Linked DNA regions of Homo sapiens: region 1 is linked to region 2. Evidence: promoter capture Hi-C in 16 types of primary human blood cells and fetal thymus (Javierre and others, 2016). All regions are on one chromosome and are shown on one strand. The core of a region is centred on a gene start or on the middle of the fragment in contact, and the rest is flanking DNA. Distances in the headings are between cores, read along the strand shown. Region 1 overlaps UROC1 (urocanate hydratase 1). Region 2 holds the start of TXNRD3 (thioredoxin reductase 3).

The links. Contacts are between HindIII fragments. The CHiCAGO score rates a contact against its expected background, and 5 or more counts as called.
Region 1: a contact is called between a fragment that was not itself captured here and the fragment with the promoter of TXNRD3 in region 2, in 1 of 17 cell types (megakaryocytes). The highest score is 6.4, in megakaryocytes.

The regions. Positions count from the first base shown.
Region 1 is chr3:126,495,923-126,498,622 of GRCh38, forward strand. It overlaps UROC1 (urocanate hydratase 1), which reads right to left. Exons shown (of 20, transcript NM_144639.3): 14 at 2,129-2,250; 15 at 116-186. Among named protein-coding and RNA genes, the nearest start is that of UROC1, 20 kb to the right of the region's middle. RefSeq lists an enhancer at 1,580-2,457. The HindIII fragment of the contact is 1,222 bases long and covers 836-2,057 here.
Region 2 is chr3:126,653,800-126,656,499 of GRCh38, forward strand. It overlaps TXNRD3 (thioredoxin reductase 3), which reads right to left and starts at 1,325. Exons shown (of 16, transcript NM_052883.3): 1 at 949-1,325. The coding sequence starts at 1,191. The HindIII fragment of the contact is 4,771 bases long and covers 291-2,700 here.

The sequences.
Region 1 (2,700 bases), core at 197-2,696, 160 kb before region 2:
GGCTTGGCAAGCTGGAGGCTGTGGACCAGGCTGAGCGCCCGTCAGCAGCACCTCACCTTTGGGCAGTCTTCTGACAGCACAGCCACCCCAGCCTCCCCCAGGCCTGGGCCCTCACCAGCCGGTGCCTGGCGGCCTCCCGGATCCAGCGGATGTTGTCCATGTACTGCAGCTTCACAGACACCTTCACTGCAGGAGAGAGGACAGCAGGCGTCAGAGACCCTCCAGGGGCACAGACCTGCCCTCAGGCAGGCTGCTCAGCTCAGCACAGACCCTGCCCCGAGCCCACCACTGAGCTAGGACACAAGGTGAGGGAGCCCACCCCACCCCACCCCTGCCTTTGTGAACTTGGGGACCAGCAGTGCCAGTGGCCCCATGAATTAATAATGCACAGCCGTGCAGCGCACTGCCTGATGCACTCGGTCCCTCCACAAATAGCTATTCAGTGCCTACTATACACCAACACTGAGCAAGGCACCAGGAACAAAGACCGCTGTGGGCCGTGAGGAACACAGGACTGTGTTGAGGGCTCCCCAGGATGGTGGATGCGGGGGCTTTCTGAGGAAGTGGCCATCAAGCTGAGTCTAAAGGCTGGGAAGGAACCGGACAAGGAAGCTCTGAGGGAACAGCCTTCCAGGCAGAGGGAACAGTCAGTGCAAAGGCCCTGAGGTGAAAATAAACTTGGCCTATGCAGGAGCTACCTGGCCAAGCTCACGGAGTATGTGTGCATGTGAGAGGGCACAGGAGCCAGCCTGACCAGCTCGTGAAAGCAGACTGGTAATTTTCCAGAAATTGTGGGAGCCAGTGGTTAACATAAATATCATTAAAATTTTAAATAAGCTTACACTTTTACCAAATTATATTAAAATGAAGGTAATAGAAATCCCTCACTCCTGTGACTTCACAGCCTTCGACTAGAGTATCTGCCTGGTGGAGATGCCGCAGGGCATGTGCTGCGGGCATGTGGAGCTGGGTCAGCACGCCTGGAAACCAGCCAGGCCTGGAGTCTTTACTCCAGGGTCTTCGTGGGTGCAGCAGCTCAGGGCTTCTTTCCGGAGGGCTGGTCGTTCCCCACTGGCTGCCTGCTGTTCTCACACCAGGGAAGCCCAGGAGACATCTGACCAGACCCCCAGGAGAAGGCCCCTGCTTCCCCTGCCCTCCTGCCTGGGCCCCTGCCCGCCTCCTCCTCCACAGGTGACCACGTCTCCCCTCTGCCTGGCTCTCCTACTCTGAGTCTGTGTAACCTGGGCCCCTGCCCAGCCCACCGAACATGGCCAGCAGCAGGGTGTAAGGGCCCTAGAGATGTGAAGCACACAGCAGAGGCTGGTGAACCACACAGAAAAGCCACCCGACCTGCAGGAAAGCTGCAGAGAGACCGGGGTAAGAACTGCAACAACAGAGGAAGTGTCATAAAATAACCATGAAACAACAACGTCAGACCCACTCAACGAGAACAAAGGTTGGTTAAAACCCAGGCAGGCCATGTAGACATGGAAAAACACAACCCTCTGGCAGAACCAACACTCAGCATCAGCAAAACCCAGGATGAACATGGGGGACCCTGATGCAGAGGAGACCCTTGTGGACCTGGCAGGCGTGGAAGGCTGGCGGGAGCATGTGGAGACAGCTTCATCATGGAAGACAGCAAGAAGGAACTAGAAGCACTGCTGTCAGCACTGCCCTGGCCACGTGGAGGGGGAGGCTGGGTCTGAGAGGGACTGTGGTGTGCTGCGGGCTGCCCAGAAAGCCTGGCCCCGGCCACTGCTGCCTGGCCACCCTAGCCCTGGACCGTCCTGCTTCAGCCGCTTTGAGGGGCTTTCTGTCACTCGCAGCCAGAGGTCCTCACTGGCAGAGCCCAGGACAGCTCTGGAGGGCAGAGGCTTGGTGTGGGTGGGGCCTGTGCCTCCACGGCTGAGAACGACACTTGGGGACCAGGATCTTTGCAACTCACTCAAGTTTCTTTAAGTCCCTTTGTGTTGCCAGCTGAGCACCCACCAGACTCACAAAGTCATCTGCGCCCAGGTTCCCTCCCAGAATTAGCTAGGTGGGCCTGCTATAGAAGCTTGTCTCTATGGAGGCAGAAGCTTTGGGGGGGCCACCCACCCATGGGCATCCCCACCAATGGCGTCACCTCCATCAGCAATGGCTTCCTCCAGCACAGATGTGGCCAGTTCGTCTGTGACCGCCAGGTCCTGGGGGTCCCCCGATGTGCACACCCAGCGGAAAGGCCCAAATCCCTGGGAGAATATGTCCCTGCAAGCACAGATGCCTCCTCACCCTGGGCCCGCTGGCTTGTTGGGGGAGGGGGTGCAGGTGTGAGCATGCCAGGGAGGAGGGCTCAGCATCCAGAAGTCAGGTGTGGAACCCCCTAAGCTGTCATTGGACAGAAAGTTCCAGGGGCCTCCCTGTCCCCTCTCTGTGTCCCAGTGCCCCCAGCCCTCCATCCCTGCCTCCTGGCTGTACCATCTCTAGCTACAGGAGTGGGGAGCTGGGACCTGGGCAAACAGAAATGACCCCAATTGCTGTTACAGATGACAAGAAAATCCATCACCTAAAAGTGACAGTCACATTGAGAGGAGAGTCAACCTGGGGCTGTAGCCTTGGGGAACTCGCCCTAGGTGAGCTTATCTTCCCAGGAGCCAGGCTCCAGGACAGGGCTGTCCTGGGGGGAGGATGCCGTGGCCTGGGCCCTCCCTGGGCTCC
Region 2 (2,700 bases), core at 75-2,574:
CAGAATGATAAACTCCGGTACGATTCATCCCAGGGAATAGTCAGCAACGAAAATTAATGAACCCCAGCTACAGATACTAACATGCATGAATCTCTGAAACATAACTGTTGAGGAAGAAAACTGCAGAAGAATACCTATGTATGTATGGTTCTATTTATATCAAGTCCCAAAACAGGCCAAAAGGAACCAAATATTGATGAATAATATATATATTTGGTAAAAATGTAAAAAAAAAAAAAGGAAATTTTGCATAGTGGTTAACCCTGAGGGAGGGAGGAGACAGCCAAGGAAGCTTCTACAGTACTAGTGTCACTTTATTATTCTTAAAAATATATATGCATAATATATGTTTTAAGAAACTATACACATCAATGTAAACTTCAAATATATTTGAAAAACACAGCCTATAATTTCATGAACTCAACCCAATAGTTTATGCTTTTGCATACTGTCTTCCACGTATCATTTTTCAACTTTCTGTAAAATGAAGTAAATTCCTAAACGTTGAAAGTCTGTACCTTACACGTAGGTTATCACCCAAAGGCTCGTTTCTAAGTGAAGTATTCTTAAACACAGAATACATTTGTCCTTAGAAATAATGCCGGATTCCTAGTCCGCCCCGAAAAGTTAAGGCAGTGTGCATGAAGCTGAAATTACCTCAGTCGTCCTAACAACCTTCCCGTACCTTCGTTTCACAAACGGGGGAACTGAGGCTCTGCACAGGGTCCTAACCCGGGTCGAGGTCACGCAATTAGGAGAGTTTCTGTTTTGATAAACTATCACAAGCCCACCTCAGGGGACGACCGGGGAGAGGAGAGGACGGACGGCTGACCTCACCGCCGCAGCCCGGGACCCGCGGGCGCCCCGGCCCGGACCCGCCCTGCCCCGGGTGGCGTCCGCGTGGCGGGCCCGGTCGCGCGCGGTGGAACCGGCGAGGGCCGCGCCTACCCGAGTACTATGGGGACAGTAGCTCTTGCTGAAGATCACCACCCGGCTGCGCTCGATGAGGCCCACGAGGTGGCGGCGCAGCTCCTCGCGGGCCTCGGACGAGCGGCTGGGCCCGGGGGACGACAGGCGGGCACGGCGCCCCGGCGGCGACAACACGCGCGCCCCTCGGACATGGCCCGAGCGGCGGTTGGGGGCATCGCCCGCCTTTCCCGGCCCGGGCGACTGCGGCGGCGACCGCTCCAGAGTCTCGCTCTCGCTCCTGGCCCGGCCGGGCCTGCTCACAAACCGAAACGCAGGCGGCTGCGGCGCCGGGACGGGGCCTGAGGGGCGGCGAACGCTGCCCTCGCTGGCCACTCTCACCACCCGCGCGAATCCGCGAGGCAGCCGCTCGCCCCGCCCCCCAACACCGCCCCGCGCATGCGAAATTGGGTCCCCCGCCCGCCCGCAGCCTAGGTGTCACCTGCCCTTCGCAAAGGGGCGGGTACCAAGCGCGAGCCTCTTTATCTCCAGGTTGTGCCTGCGTCCGGAGACCACCCAATCTTGGCGATGGCGCTCTGAGATGGCCTCTGTGCAATGCCTTTTACTCCTAATAATCCCCAACAGCCCCTTTAAACCACCTTAAAATATACGTTCTTCAATTTTTATGGGAAGTGTGAATTGGAAAGATTGATATTTTTAAAAGTTTAGATCACACAAGCTAAATAAATATATTGCGTTTGCTATTGCAATGCAGCTTTAATGAGTTTCCTAGGTTGCTACCCGTCAGTTCCCTTCTACATAGAATTCCAGAGCCGCCCCTAACAAAGGGACTCTGAAACCGCGAGAAGAGGAATCCTCTGTCCATTTCGGTGGATGAGTGGAAGACCTCGGAGCTGAACTTGCCTGCAGTGACTGAGTTAGCCGGTCATGGTGGCGGGTGCCTGTAGTCCCAGCTACTTGGGAGGCTGAGGCAGGAGAATGGCGTGAACCTGGGAGGCGGAGCTTGCAGTGAGCCGAGATGGCGCCACTGCACTCCAGCCTGGGCAACAGAGCGAGACTCCGTCTCAAAAAAAAAAAACAAAACCAAAAACAAAAACCTGGAGTTTCCTTCTTCTCAACAATTCTTTACATTTCAGTTAAGTCCTCTAGGCGGAACCCATGCAATAACCAGAGCAGGGGAAGGAGCCTAGTAGGTACTTTATGCTTTTTGTTAACCTGTGCACTCAGCGATGCTGGAGTGCCTGTCATGTGCCAGATACTGTGCTGGGCGCTGCGGATTTGGCAGAGAATGAGGCTGGCCGCCCTGCTCCTATGAGGTGTGGCTGCGTCTCTCCATCTCCTGGGTCCCATGAGGCACAACCAGTCATGGGGCCATTGTTCAGGTGAGGACACATGTCCAGGATGAGGGGGGAGTGTGTGGAAGCTACGGGCCTTGAAGTCAGGTGCATCCTCCTTTTCCCTGAGACTAATCTGTGGACATGACCCATGTCCCCAGCCGTCGCCCTCAGGGAGGTCGCAGGGCTGGCCGGGTCCCTGCGTGAAGTTTCATCTAGCACCCAATCACAGTGCCTGTGATTTTCACATTAGCTTGGGTCCTCCTCTTTGAGCCGTGAGGGGGAGTAATCAGGGGCACAGACCATGACACTCTTGCATGGCACAGCCTGGCCCATCACACAACATTGATGGGTCATTGACATGGGCAGCCTGAAGGAAACAGACATTGATGGGTCCAGTGACATTCAGAAATATCCACAGGGTCCCTTCTCCCCTGCA